Regions from separate parts of the Homo sapiens genome. Here region 2 is linked to region 1. The links are contacts of gene promoters, found by promoter capture Hi-C in human tissues and cell types (Jung and others, 2019). All regions are on one chromosome and are shown on one strand. Each heading gives the region's core, a stretch centred on a gene start or on the middle of the fragment in contact. The rest is flanking DNA. Distances are from core to core; before and after follow the strand shown.

The links. Contacts are between HindIII fragments. The study calls those that stand out against the background at their distance.
Region 2: a contact is called between a fragment that was not itself captured here and the fragment with the promoter of KIF26A in region 1, in 3 of the 25 tissues and cell types used here (dorsolateral prefrontal cortex, mesendoderm cells and pancreas).

The regions. Positions count from the first base shown.
Region 1 is chr14:104,133,686-104,140,878 of GRCh38, reverse strand. It overlaps KIF26A (kinesin family member 26A), which reads right to left and starts at 2,292. Exons shown (of 15, transcript NM_015656.2): 1 at 2,115-2,292; 2 at 1,591-1,836. The coding sequence starts at 2,156. It overlaps KIF26A-DT (KIF26A divergent transcript), which reads left to right and starts at 2,250. Exons shown (of 3, transcript NR_158217.1): 1 at 2,250-3,349; 2 at 3,637-4,012; 3 at 5,707-6,096. RefSeq lists a silencer at 3,124-3,293 and enhancers at 2,990-3,701, 3,702-4,413, 4,700-5,273, 5,882-6,381. The HindIII fragment of the contact is 16,750 bases long and covers 1-7,193 here.
Region 2 is chr14:104,236,773-104,243,550 of GRCh38, reverse strand. All of the region lies in intron 1 of LINC02691 (long intergenic non-protein coding RNA 2691), which reads right to left. Among named protein-coding and RNA genes, the nearest start is that of LINC02691, 17 kb to the right of the region's middle. RefSeq lists enhancers at 2,870-3,714, 3,715-4,560, 5,412-5,913. The HindIII fragment of the contact is 5,247 bases long and covers 2,823-6,778 here.

The sequences.
Region 1 (7,193 bases), core at 1,043-3,542:
CTGGCTGAGACCAGCCCGGGACCCCGGTGTGCTGAGTGCCAGCGCCAGCTAGGGAAGGGGGAGCCCCCAGCTGGCACTCAAGAGGAGTTTCCAGTGTCAAAGGCCAAGCTCAGGGGAGGCTGGAGATGGGTGGTCTGGGGCTCCCCTGAAGACCTGTCTGCCAGAAGAGACCAAGACACCCCCCTAGATGAGGAACCTAGAATCCACCAGGGACTAGTATCACCTGCAGCCCTCTCCACTAGGACCCCTGGCCTGCCCGTGACCAGGAGCCCCCTCCCCTCCACGAGTCCATGCCAGGACCATGGCCCCAGGGCCAGGCAGCATCAGCAGTCCAAGCCCACTCCAAGAATGAGGAGACCAGCTCAATCTTAATGCCCCTCCTGTCTCTGGCGTGTTTCCCCTAATGGGGCAGCAAGATGGGCCTTTAGCTCTGGCTGGCCCTCTCCAGGGGGCCCTCAAGGGTCTCCTGCTACCTTTTAAACTAGATACAGGCCACTGGGGCACAGAGTATGGCCAAGGCTGCAGCCTGTCCAGAGCAGAGGACAGGGCGGGTCCAGCCCCACCCCAGGACAGGCCCACAGGCGCCTGGCCTGAGCCAGAGAGAGGCTACAGCAATCCTATCCCTCGCCGAGACTCCAGAGAGCCCGGAGACGGTGCCCAGGACAGAAACCAGACTGGTACCCTGCCCCACCCTGCCCTGCCCCAGACAGGGCAGTCAGGGTCTCAGCTCACTCCAACCCCCACAGCCCTTAGAGAACTATATTTAGATTCAATGGGGATTATGCGGACTTCCCAGGAACTCTTTCATAAAGGCTGAAGGCCCGGCAGCGGGCTTCCTCTGGAGACCCCCACCCGCCCCCAGCCTTTGCAAACTTCCAGCATGCATTGTTCCTGGAACAATGGTCCCTGCTCCCTCCAAAGCCGGCAGGCCCACTGGCTGGAAATCCAGGAGAACCCCTCCCCTGCAAGCACCTGCCCCTGGGGCTGGAGCCTGGGGAACCCAGAGGGCCCCGACTCAATTCCCCATGGGCGGCCACTGCCTCAGTCTATCCCAGGAGGTATGGGACAACAGTTCTTATCCTTGAGGCTGGGAGAGGAGTAGGCAGGGACCCCCCAGCTGCTGTGGCCCACCCTTTCACCTGCCAGGCCCCCCGGCCCCAGGTATGTAATTTCCAGACACCTGGCTGGGGGCCCAGGTGCCCCAAGGGCCACAATGCACCAAATAACCTCTCCCTGCTGGTAGGGCTGGAGCTGTCCCGCCCTGGGTGGAGTCCCTGCCATCCGCTCTCTCCCCTCCTCCTCCCACACAAACCTGCGTTCCAGCTGTGGGACATCTGGGCTGGGGGAGGAACGCCAGCCCAGGCCCCTCCCATCCGAGGCAGCAGGGCCCCTCGGGCTGAGCTCCCTAGCTCACACATGGTGTTACAGACCGGGAAACTGAGGCCCGCAGAAGGGAAGTCCTGGCTGATAACTCTTTGTGGAAACAGCAGCAGGGAAGGAGTGGAACCCTGCTTCCCTCCAAGCCCCAAGTTCTACCCAAGTTCGGCGTGGCCCTGCTCGGAGGGGTCGGCCTAAGGAAGTGTCACTTACCCGGAGGGTGGTCCCGGGCCCGCTGACCAGCTTCCACGCCTGTCGCTTGAGCTCCACCAGCTTCGTGTGGCAGTGGCGGCACCAGCCGCCTCCGCCGGCCGAGTGGCCCTGCTCTGGGCCGGCCCCGGCGCCTTCGGGAGCAGGGCGGCTGCCGCATGGGTCCTGGTCGGGCCCGGCGGGTAGCCTCTTTCGGGGGGACACCTCCAGCAGCGGCGGCGGCTCGCGGGCCGGGCCGCCCTCGGCCACCTGCAGGGTGTGGGGGCGGAAGCGGACAGTGAGCCTGGGACGTCCGTCGGATCCAGACCCCTGCGCGCCCTGCCCCAGCGTGACGCTCTTGCCAAAGTTAGGAGCCCTGGGCACGACCCTGGCGCTCACCCACTCCCTCCATCCCCGGAGGTCCCGCCTGCGGGTCCGCTACCCTCAGCAGGAGGCCCGGCCCCCAGGGATCCAGCGCACACCGCGAGTATCTTCGCCGTCCCGGGCCCCCGCCGCCCGCCTCCCTCTCCAGGCCGGGCCGCGCGTACCGCGGGCTGCGCAGCGCACAGAGGGACGCCGCGGCCGACCATGGCCGGGGCGCGGGAAGAGCCCGGCAGGCGCTCCCGGCCACGCTGGCTCTCCGGGGGCGCCGCGGCTACGTGATCCGGCCCCGAGGCGCCCCCATGGCCCGGCCCAGCCGCTCGGAAGTTCGCAGAGCCTGCGAGTGTCGCGAGGAGCGCGGTGGCTCCGGTGGGCGCGCTCGGGAGGCGAGGGCGGGGCCGGGGAAGGGCGGGGCTCGGGCTCCCGGGGCGGGCGGCGAGGGGCGGGAGCCCAGAGAGTGCCCCGCCCTTGCCCAGTGCTGGGCGGCGCGTGGGGGGGGTAGGGTCCCCGCTTCCCCACGCGGCCCCGCGCACTCCAAGGACCCCAACCTGTTAGGTGAGTCCCTGCCCCGGGGAGGGGCGCTGGGGGCGGCGGCGAGGATCTAGTTGCGCGCGCGCATGCGCCTCCCGCCCCTCTCCCGGGACACCAGGGCTGCGCGTCTCCCAGGAGGCGCCGACGCCCCTCCCTCTACAGGCGGGAAAACTGAGGCTGCGGAGGGGACGCTCTTGCCCAAGGCCCACGGCGAGGTGGGCCGAGGAAGGGGCGGGACCCCGGCCCCGAGACTCCCAGGCGCCTTTCCAGCAAGCCCAGCGTACTCTGCGTGTCGCGGGCCACTTTAGGTCTAACTGTCGCGCGTGGGTTAGTGTCGCCGCGGTGTGCGCCTCGAGCCGGGCAGCGACCGCGCCGGCGTATCTGTGCCTCGGCGCGTCTGCGAACGGCACGTGTCTTTACAGCCGCGCGTGTGCCCGCAAGTGGGTGTGCGCGCCGTGCCGCCCGGGAAGCGGGAGGTCCTGCGGGCGTGCGCCGGACCTGTTGTCAGCAGGCCTGGCAGATGGGAACTCAGCTCCGGAATTAATTGCTTGTTTGTCTCCGGCTGGGAGGCCGCCCCCCCGCCCTTCCCTGGCGACCAGTTGCTCTGTGCCTAGCCGGGCCCCAAATGTCGCCGGCATCCGCGGCCGCAGGCAGCTCCGGGCCAGGCTCCGGGTCAGCCCCAAAGCCCGGGTCAAGCCAGGCGGGCGCGGCGGGCGGGCTCCCCGTGACGCGAGTGCCCCCTGCCGGCCGCTGCGCACACGGCTCCGAGACTGGGGAGACAGCGCCGCGCGTCCCAGGCCTGAGGCGCACTCGGAAACTCCGAAGGTCGTGACCCGGCGGAGACCAGGACACGCGGCTGCCGGCACATACGGTGAGGCCTTCGCAGAGACTCAGTACGTCAAAGTGACCCTTTCCGTTTTGCCCACCCCCTTTTACTTGGATAAGCCTCCCCGCCCACGCACGCACTCCCCAGAAAGTGGGGTGGGTGATCCCCTCCCGGCTTTCCGGGTCGTTGATGACCTTAGGGGTTCGAAAACGCAAGGGGGTATGGAATAAAGTGGCAGGGGCTCTCCACTCTTTCTGAGATCCGTAAGCCTGCAGTCGCTTTCCACCCAGCCTGGGGGGCCGGAAGCGCTTCCCCTACCCGTCTCTTCGCAGCCTGGAGAATGAAAACGGGCGTCAGCCCACATCTGGATCTGGGTACTGAGGACAACACCCAAACCCCACCCCGCACTGCCGGCAGACAGCACCGCCTCCCGCCGCTCCACTGCTCCGGGACACACACTCTCTATATCCCGTCCCCCCACCCACACACGCAACACAGAAGCACGCAGCGGTCGGGAGCACCGGTCCTGCGCCCCTGGCCAGCCACACCCGCAACTTCAGCGCTTCTACCGCCGCGGCGCTTCGGGAAGCACAAGCTCACATCCCATATCCGCAGAACACGGGGTGCACAAGGCTGGAGTCACCTCGGGGGCTCACGATCAGTCAGGGGCCCCGACCCCCTACTTCGCCCATCCTAGCAAGGCGCAAGGTGAGCCCGAGAATCCCTGCGCTGCGCTCTCCGCCCTAGCCACAGCCTCCGGGTGGGTCCGGTTGGGACACAGCCTTGAAGGCAGAGGGAGACTTGGACAACGCTAATGGGGGAAAGTGCGGCAGCGAGTCCCAGCCCGGGCTGCGGGACGCGGCTCCGGACCTGCCGTCTCCTTCCCGGCGCAGCACCCCCGGCCGCGCGAGCCGCGCGGCAAAGTAACGGGACGGCGCCTACGCCGCCCGCCCCCCTCCCGACAGCCCTCACCTTGCCTCGTCGCCGCAGGAGGTGGCTGGTGAAGCCCAGGATGATCTCCGAGTCCAGGCAGAGCGCCCCCATCTCCAGCAGGCTGGGAGCCTTGCGGGGCGCGCCGCGGGGCGGCTCGGGCGGCTGGGGCAGCGCCATGGAAGAGGGAAGCGCGGGGAGCGGCCCCTAGTGCCTCCCGCCACCGCCGCCCCGCCCGCGCGTTCACTGGCCGCGCGCCCGCCGCCGCCGCGCCCCGCACCGCGCAGGGCCGCCCGTCAAGCCCCCGGTCCTCCGCGCCCCGCGCCCCCGAGCCCTGCGCTCGCTCCGCGCCGCGCGCCCCCGCGCTCCGGCCCCGCCCGCCTGCGCCGACAGCGCCCCTTCCGCCCCGGCGGCGAGCCAGACACCAGCCACGCGGACTGGAGGTGTGGGGCGACGGCCCCGCGCGCCACTGGGCGGAGGTTGGAAGCCAGAATCGGGTCGCGGTCCGCGCCCACCTGCCTCGCTAGCCCCCAGACGTCGGTGTCTACTGCCGGGTATCCGGCAGGGAGAGGGCAGCGCGGCTGCTGTAAAACCCTTCCGACTGGGGCATAATCGCAGCCCCTTCCCCCTCCAATCTGTCCTGAGGACACGGCGCGTTGGGGTCCTGGCCCATGGAAACGCTCAGAGCCCAGTGACCTGTGCACTCCACCCCGCCCACGCTCCAGAGCCCCCGTTCAACCTTGGCCTATGGACCTCCAAGGCCCACCCCAACCGGACCACGGAGCGTGCGCAGCGGGACCCGCAGTCTGCGCCTCCACTCCAGGATCCCGATTGTGCCGCCACCCGTGGCCTTCCCTGCCCCGACCCCGACTCCCTGAGGGCTGGAAGATTCGGGCTGGCTGCCGGGCACGACGACTTTACTTTCAGGGTCCGAAGCTAGGGGCGGGGGTGGGCGCTCTGCCTGGGTGCAAACTCAAGCCCGGGTCCCGCGCTCCTCCTGTGGGCTGCCCCAGCCTCGCGCGCAAGTGGGTGAGATGCCTGGCTTGAGGGAGGAAGGGAGAGGATCAAGCAGGCAGAGAGGTTCGCCTAAATGCGCTAGGCCCACGCGGAAGGTCTTTGGGAGTTAAGGAAGTGTCAGGGACCCTGCCCAGGGGATATTAGGCGCCTTGAGCAGGACCTGGAAGGTGGACAGGCGAGGGAAGGAGAACGTTTTCAGCGGCGCCAGCGCGCACCTATGGCCTGGCTGGGGTGCTAAGGCTGGGCTAGACTTTCTGTGCTCTCTGCCCCCTGCACTCCTCTACTCTCCCCTGGGAAGGACCATGGCCACGCCCCACAACCCCACTGCTCCGGCGGCGCCGCAAGGCCGTCCTGCTCCCCCGGTCCTTCCCCTGACTCCCCCCAGTGGAGGCTGAAGGACGTTGTCTCAACCTGACTCCAACCCAGAGCCCAGCACTGCCATTTGTCTCCAACAGAATCACCATAAACGCTGGATTTGCTGACCACATGGCCGATCGTGACCACCTGCTCTGTACTCACCCAGGCTTCTGGTCAGGAGAGAGGCGGGGAAGAGCTGCCCCCTCCCTGCGTCCACCATCACTCCTGGCCTGGGATCAGGGCAAGTTATAAAGGGGGCCAGAGTCCCCCCTTTCTCTCTGTCCCTCTCCAGGAGGACACTCTGGGGACCACCCACCCTCCTCCCTCCCCCACAGGAAGGGGACTGGGGAAGACTGTCCTCTTCCCCCATCCTGTCTCATCCAAGACCCTGAGCCTGGGGCGGGGAGGGGGGGGCTCCCTTCAGCGGACCAAGGGCTTCTGGGAGGCCACCCGCCATGTCAGTGGATTGATTAAAGTCATTGTGGGGATTTTTTTTAACATTTAATTTACCAGGCACGCGGCGGCTGGTCAGAGCTGTCCCCAGGGAAATCTAGACCAAGGGAGCAAAACAGAAAAAAACCTCCTACCATTCAGCAGGGCCCCTCTGATGGGATTAATTGCCGGAACTCGGCTTCCATTCAGACCACACGCAGCAATGTTTCAGGGAGGGAGGAGGACATGGGGCTTGAGTGCTCAGATTCCTTCCCTGGGTGCTTGGAGCCCAGGGCCCTCCATACCGCCATCTCTCCCCAGCCTGCTGGTGCTGGTCAAGAGCCCCGCCCCCCACCTCTCCGCACCTTCGTGTCTTCATGTGTGACGAGGTGGACGGTACCCGGAGGCAGACCAGTCCCTCCAGAGCCCACCCCACCCCCATCCACGTCCCTTCAGTGTGCAGGGCAAGAGCTGGGAGGCACCCCAGACACGCTCCCACGGAAACTGAACACTTGCCAGAGGTGTCTTTAGTAGTGGAAACCGGCTGGGTAGGAATGGCCAATCGTCTCTTCATCCTTGGCGACAGTGGATGGACGGCAGGTGGACCCGGGACAGGGACGGGCACGCAGTGTGCGGCACAGCCCCGTTGGCCTTTGCAGAGAAGGTTTATGCTTATGAAGGCGGGGACCTTTCCTGGGACAGACACAAGCAACAGGTAACGATTGTTGCCTCTGGAGAGAGAGTAGGAGTGGGGTTCGGGAGAGGTTTCACTTCCATTTTACACCCCTCTGCACGGTTTTGACTTTTGTGGGGTTTTTAACCATCCTGTTTAGCATTTAATAAAGAGATAAGGAAGGGTTACAGGGCCTAAACTGTCCACAATAAAATTATACAAGGCCCATGGCCCTAGGATCACACCTGGCATCAGACAGACCCTCATCCTCTCCAAGAGTTGAGGGGGATGGAAAAAACCCTTCTCCTCAAGGAGGCCTCGGGACACTCCCCACACGTTCCCAGGATTGACCAGCTCCCTGGGCTCCCTGCTCACCTATCCCTCCTGGAGGCCAGGACCATGTCTGGGGTGCAGGAGAGAGGGTGCCTCAGGAAGGCAGCCACAAGGGAGGCCGACCCCGGCTCAGGGCAGGGCCTCCTA
Region 2 (6,778 bases), core at 4,197-6,696, 100 kb before region 1:
TGACTGTTGCACCCATCAGCCCCCTCAATGGCAGGTGAGGGAGAACCAGCAAGGCTCAGAGGACTCTTAAGAGCCAGCCATGGGCATCTTTTTCCAATCCCACACTCAGTGATGTTGTGTTGGTAACTTGAAGTCAGCCATGGCAGGAGTGTTTACACCATGGGAATTGGCAGGTGCTACAGATCAAAACTGTTTTTTTTTATGAAGAGCCAGTTATTAATTATTTATCAGCATGGCATTAGGGACAACAGAGTCAAAGCCCAGAGTTGGTAAGAGAGAGGAATCCGACAAGGCCCCAACTCTAAGCCTGAAGGCCATGGGTGAGTCAGAAGTAAATCAGTCCTTGTGTGGGCCTGCCATTTGTGATGGTGACTTCAGAGGTCCTGCTCCAGGAAATCTCAAGGCTTAAACTTCGTGTAAAATACTTCCAGACAGGTAGTGCCCCACTAGGCACCTGCAAAAAGCAAACCAACACCATCCTTAAAGAAAGGTACTATTGGCCAGGTGCCGTGGCTCATGCCTGTAATCCCAGGACTTTGGTATACTTGAGGTCAGGAGTTGGAGACCAGCCTGGCCAACATGGTGAAACTCTGCCTCTACTAAAAATACAAAAATTAGCCGGGTATGGTGGCACATGCCTGTAATCCCAGCTACTCAGGAGGCTGAGGCAGGAGAATCGCTTGAACCCGGGAGGTGGAGGTTACAGTTAGCTGAGCTCACACCACTACACTCCAGCCTGGGCAACAAAGTGAAACTCATCAAGAAAAGAAAAGAAAAGAAGAGGGGAGGGGAGGGGAGGGGAGGGGAGCAGAGGGGAGGGGAGGGGAGGGGAGAGGAGAGGAGGGGAGAGGAGAGGAGAGGAGGGGAGGGGACAGAAGAGGAGAGGGGAGGAGAGGAGAGGAGAGGAGAGGAGGGGACAGGAGAGGAGAGGAGAGGAGAGGAGAGGAAAGGAGAGGAACTATCATCCTAAGGCTCAAATTATTCTTACAAGCAATTTTTCAATACAATCTCTAGCACACAAAGATAACCACACACAAAATGAAATTAAATTCACAATCAAGAGCCAGCAAAAACAAAAGACAATAGAAACAGATGCACAAAGACTTCAGGTTTTGGAATTATAAGCAGAAGATCAGATCACATCAAATAACGATGCTTGCTAAGTTTAAAAGATTCAAAAATTCAAACATATCACAGGAGACTGAAAACTATAAAACATGTCAGAGAAGATTTGGAAAAGAACCAAATAAAAATATTTAAAACTGAAAATTAACCAAAAATTAGAACTCAATGCCTAAGTTGTTTTTTTTTTTGTTGTTGTTGTTGTTTGAGACAGAGTCTGGCTCTGTCGCCCAAGCTGGAGTGCAGTGGCGCGATCTCAGCTCACTGCAAGCTCCGCCTCCCGGGTTCGCGCCATTCTCCTGCCTCAGCCTCCCGAGTAGCTGGGACTACAGGCACCCGCCACCACGCCCGGCTAATTTTTTTTTTTTTTTTTTTTTTTTTTTTTTTTTAGTAGAGACGGGGTTTCACCGTGTTGGCCAGGATGGTCTTGATCTCCTGACCTCATGATCCGCCCGCCTCAGCCTCCCAAAGTGCTGGGATTACAGGTGTGAGCCACCATGCCCGGCCAATGCATAAGTTTTAACAGCAGATTTTATACAGCTAAAGAAAGATGAATAAACTAGAAAACCAATCTAAAGACAGTGTCCAAAATGCAACAGGAGACAAAACCAACCAAACAAACAAACAAAAACAGGAAAAACAAATTCAAATTGTATTTCTACATCAACAAACAAGTAAAAAAATGTAATTTAAAAGCATCAAAGAATATTGGGCATCTAGGAATATATCTAACAAATTTATCTGAGACTAAAAATTGTATTGACAGAAATAAGGAACACCAAATAACAAGATAAAACATGCTCCTGTATTGGAAGATACAACCTGTGAAGATGCCAGTTCTTCCTGAATTGCTTTGGTTCAATAATATTCCACCCAAAACCCCAACAGCACTTGGTTCTGTGTCTATGGGAAGCTTAACAAACTGACTGTATAATGTGAATAGTAGCATAAAGAGCCTAGAGCTGCCCGGATACCCTCAAGGAAGAATTTTTTTTTTTTTTGTAAACCTATAACTGCTCAAAAAATAGTCTTTTTTTCTTTTCTTTTTTTTTTTTTTTTTTTTTTGAGATGGAGTCTCACTCTGTCACCCAGGCTGGAGTGCAGTGGCGCAATCTTGGCTCACTGCAACCTCCACCTCCCAGGTTCAAGCTATTCTCCTGCCTCAGCCTCCCAAGTAGCTGGGATTACAGGCATGTGCCACTATGCCCAGCTAATTTTTGTTTTGTTTTTAGTAGAGATTGGGTTTCGCCATGTTGGCCAGGCTGGTCTTGAACTCCTGACCCCAGGTGATCTGCCCAGCTTGGTGTCTCAAAGTGCTGAGATTACAGGCGTGAGCCACCGCGTCCAGACTAAAAAAATAGTCTATTAATTAGAAACAATAACAGATTGGCATTATCTAAAAGGGTTGAAGAGGCGCACATCTCATGACCTGGCAATTCCACTCCTGGGGAGGGACCCTAGGACAAGTGGGCACATGGGCGAGAGTGTTCACAGTAGCATGGGCCACTCAGCCAATTCAGATACCACCCAAGTGTTCATCAACAGCAGAATGGATGAGAAGCCTGTTGTATGTTCGCATGATGGAACATGGTGGAGCCATGGAAGCCAACGGACTATAGCTAGAGAAACCAAGAACTCAACACACTGAGATTATTTCACACCCCTATACAGGAAGATGCAATGTTATCAAGGTTGGCTGCACATCAGACAAAACAGCAGGTGAAAGAAACAAGGAACAAAGCAATCACCTAGCTTTATTCTATTTACATAAACCCCCACCCTGGCCCCGACGGGGAAAGCCACACCAGCTTGTTTAGGGTTGCTAGGACAGAAGTGTTGCCCATATAAGGAGGAGGCAAGAGTGACCGCAGGTGCAGGGGCTCTGCTGGAAGGGTGCAGGGGGAGGGGAATGAGGCTGGGGAACTCTACCGGGTGATCTGGATGGCAGTCACACAGATGCGGGCTCTGAAGTTACACATCCTGTTGTACATTTATGATGCATGTCCTTTTCTATATGGGTGTTGCATTCAAAAATAAAATAAGCATCAAAACAAGAATCGGCTTTGTTCTCTTATTTGATTTATTCTGCTTAATTCAAGGTGCAAATGACCAGCCACTGTCATCACTCCGGGTCCAAGCATCCCCCAGGCCGCATGGCATTGGGCACCTCTGGCATTTCTGGGCGAGTGGACCGGCCAGCCCCAGCCTCCTCGCCCACACAGAGGCTCTCGCCCAGCGTCACCAGGGCCTGGTGTGGGCCTTGTCCCATGGCCATGAAGCACCCTCCTGGGCCAGGCCGCCCCAGTGCTCCCTGCCCTGGAAGCTGCCTCCTCTGCCGTTTCCTGCCTCCTCAGCACAGAAATAACCCCACGTCAGGCACCAGCATGTGTGTGTGGGCTTCTCCCAAGCACACGCAGAGAAGTGACTAACGGGGTGTCACTTTACCAGCGCCTGCAGCGGGGACCCCCACGTGGGCCAACTGGAAGCTTCCAACAGGCTCGCGTTGTGCTGATCAATCATTAATCTGGACATTCAAAAGCATTTTATTTGCTTGACAAGGAGCTGATTGCTGAAGTTGCCAGGAGCCCGAAGTCATTTTTCTCCTTCCTCCCCCTATGAAAAAGCATTCTCCTCCTGGCTAGAGGGGCAGCAGGGCCTGCCAGCGCAGGTGGGGTCCTTGCTGCCCCCCGTCTCATGCTGAGAACTGCAGCGCCTGCCCCCAGCCCCACCACCTCCAAGGCCTTGGCACCTGAGCCCCTCACTTTCTCTTCACACCCCTTCTGCCGTCCTTTCTCATAGCTCTGCCCCCTGCCCTGCCCTGGCCCAGGACTCACCAGCTCCCTCCCCCACAGGGCATAGGCCAACTACACCCCCACCCCTGCAGCCTTCAGGGCCAGCCCAGAGGCCACCTCCACCCATGTTTGGGGCCCCTCTCCAGGACTCCCAGGGCAGCCTTGTTCTCCCACCCCTCCTGGCAGTGCCTCCAGCACCCTGATGCTTGTGCTGTGGCCTTCAGACCCATCCAAAATAAGTTAGGCATGGGAGGTCACTTCATGATCACCAGCTTGAGCCAAAGGGATTGAGACAGTGGCCCATACACCCAGCCAGCCTCAAACAGACCCACTCACCCCGGGGCTTCCCCTCAGGCCCTGTCTCGCAGGAGTCACAGCCTCGAGCATGGCTTCGGTCTTCAAGAAACACCCCCATGGCCTCCCCAGAGCCTAAATCCAGCCCTGAGCAGCCAGAAAGTTCAGGGACAATCACCCCCATGACACAGAGGACAAACCGAGGCCAAAGGAGAAACCTCCTCCAAAGACAACGCGGCACTGCTCACCTAGGGCCCTCCGGTCAAGCCACGAAACTTGCCCCTTCCCTGAGGAGGAGCCAACGTGTTCACCGGAGGGGTCCCTGGCAGCGGAGGTGGCTGCAGTGTGGGCACCACTCTTATGAAGCATCCATCAGAGGCTCCTCCGGTGCATGGCCAGGGGCCTCCACACTCTCGGGGGCCTGAGGGCAGGCGTAGCCTGGCTCCTCCTCAGCCGCACGTCTGGCAGTCTTTCTCTTCTCGCTACAGCTGACATCTGGCTCTCCCCAGAACCCCTACAGTCCTTCAGGCCCCCACAGCCCCAACTCCAGCTCAGGATTGGTCCCTCCGCCATGGCTGCTGCTTGTCAGTCACTCATCAATGGCTTCAGCTTTGGGCCACTCGCTGGGAGGGACAGGATGGTATCCACCTCCCAAAATTCAGATATCAGAGCCCTAAACTCCAGGACCTCAGAATGGGACTGTATTTGGGGATAGGCTCTTTAAAGAGCTGATTCCATTAAAGGGAGGTCATGAGGGTGGCCCTGTTTGCATCCGAGGGGTGTCCTGATAGTAGATTAGGACATAGGCACACCACCCGGAGGAACAGGGAGGAGGTGGCATCTGTAAGCCCAGGACGGGGCCAGAGAGGAAACCAGCCCTGCAATTCCAGGGCCTCAGAGTTCCGGCCTCCAACATCGTGAGAAAGTTCATTTCTGCTTTTGCCCCACCGGTCTGTGGTACTGGCTATGGCAACCCCAGCCAGCCAACGTACTCACAGCCTCTGAGCATCATGGGACGGCCAGTCCATCTGCCCCCTGACCCAGTGACCGTCCTCTCCTCCTGAGGCTGCAGCCTGGGCTGTCATCACCCACAAACCCACCTCCAGCATCCGCTCCACGGCCGCTGCCCTGCCATGCTCCGCACTCCCACCCTCCGCAACTTCCAGCCCCCAGCCTTCCTCCCGACCAGGACCGCGTGTCCTCATTGAGCCAGTGACACTTTACACTTCCTCTCCTGCCCGCCCTTCCTCCTGTGCCCACCTCGGCACCCGTGGTCTATCAGAATGACCACGCCCTTGCCCTCTGCCGCCCGTGCATTTCCTCCCACCATAAGCAACCCCAGCGCTGGGGGAATATACTAGGTGATGGTCTTCGGGTGTTGGTGCAGGCAGCATGTGACTGTGATCCTGGAGAAAAGGAAAGCCTGTGAGATGAGCGCCACGTTGGCCCAGCCCTCCACCCAGGACAATTTCCCCACCACTCATGCAGGAGTGGAGCCCAGGCAGGGTGTGGCAGCAAGCTGAGCCCAGGAGGCAGAAACCAGAGCTCAGGCACTGAGGGGACAGGACTGTGGGGGGCAGGATTCCAGAGAGAGGGTCCGGAGGGGAGTGTAGGGTTCACGGTCCCTGGTGGGGCCTTGCATTCAGAGGGCAGGACCAAGTGCCCTTCTCCAGGGCAAAGGCAGGACAGAGAGCGTAGCAGTTAGCAGCACTGGAAGGTGGTGGGGCTCAGGACCAACCCAAGTCAGGAGGCGAGCTTGGCAGGTGGAGCAGGCAGCTGAGACACAACCATGCTCAGAGCCCTGCTCCAGACACATCCTCAAAACGCCAACACTGAGCCCCCAGGTCCACAGGGGAGACAGAGTGTGGGGACTTTGCGTCACCAAGGTAGAGGCTGGGTAAACGCCATGGGCCTCCAGGACCTGTTTCAACAAAGCATAAAATCGAGATCTGCACAGGCTACTGGGACAAAAATCAGCACTTCTCAGAGGAAGATAACAGAATCCAGAGTTTCCACAAGGTACCATTTACAATGTCTAATTTACAATAAAAAATGACTAGCCAAACAAAGAAACAGAAAAATTGCTTTATGTCAGCAATTATAAATACGTCCCAGGTTTAAAGGGTAATTCCAGAGCTGAAAAATATAATAGCTGAATTTTTTTTAAAACACTGGATAGGTTTAACAACAGATTGGAGATAGGAGAGTCAGCAAGCTTAAAGACAGAAATTTCTATGTCATCTGAAGAACAAAGAGATTGAAGATTTCTAGAACATGAAAAATAAGTGTGTTAAACATATCTTTTTGACACCCAGGACCCTGCTGACCCTGGAGAAACTGCTCTCCGCCACCTCCCAGGCCTAGTCAGTTCCTAGAGAGTGTAAACACTGGGGCACAACTTCCATACGCAAACCAGCTAATCCAGAACCTGCACCCATGCCACCTCCTCTATGGGCTTTCACACTCAGCAGGGTGGCCACAAGTCCCACCCTGATTACCCCAGGGCAGGTACCAGACCACTAGAGACAGCACCTGTACCCCAGAGCCCACCAAAATGACTGAAATGAGCC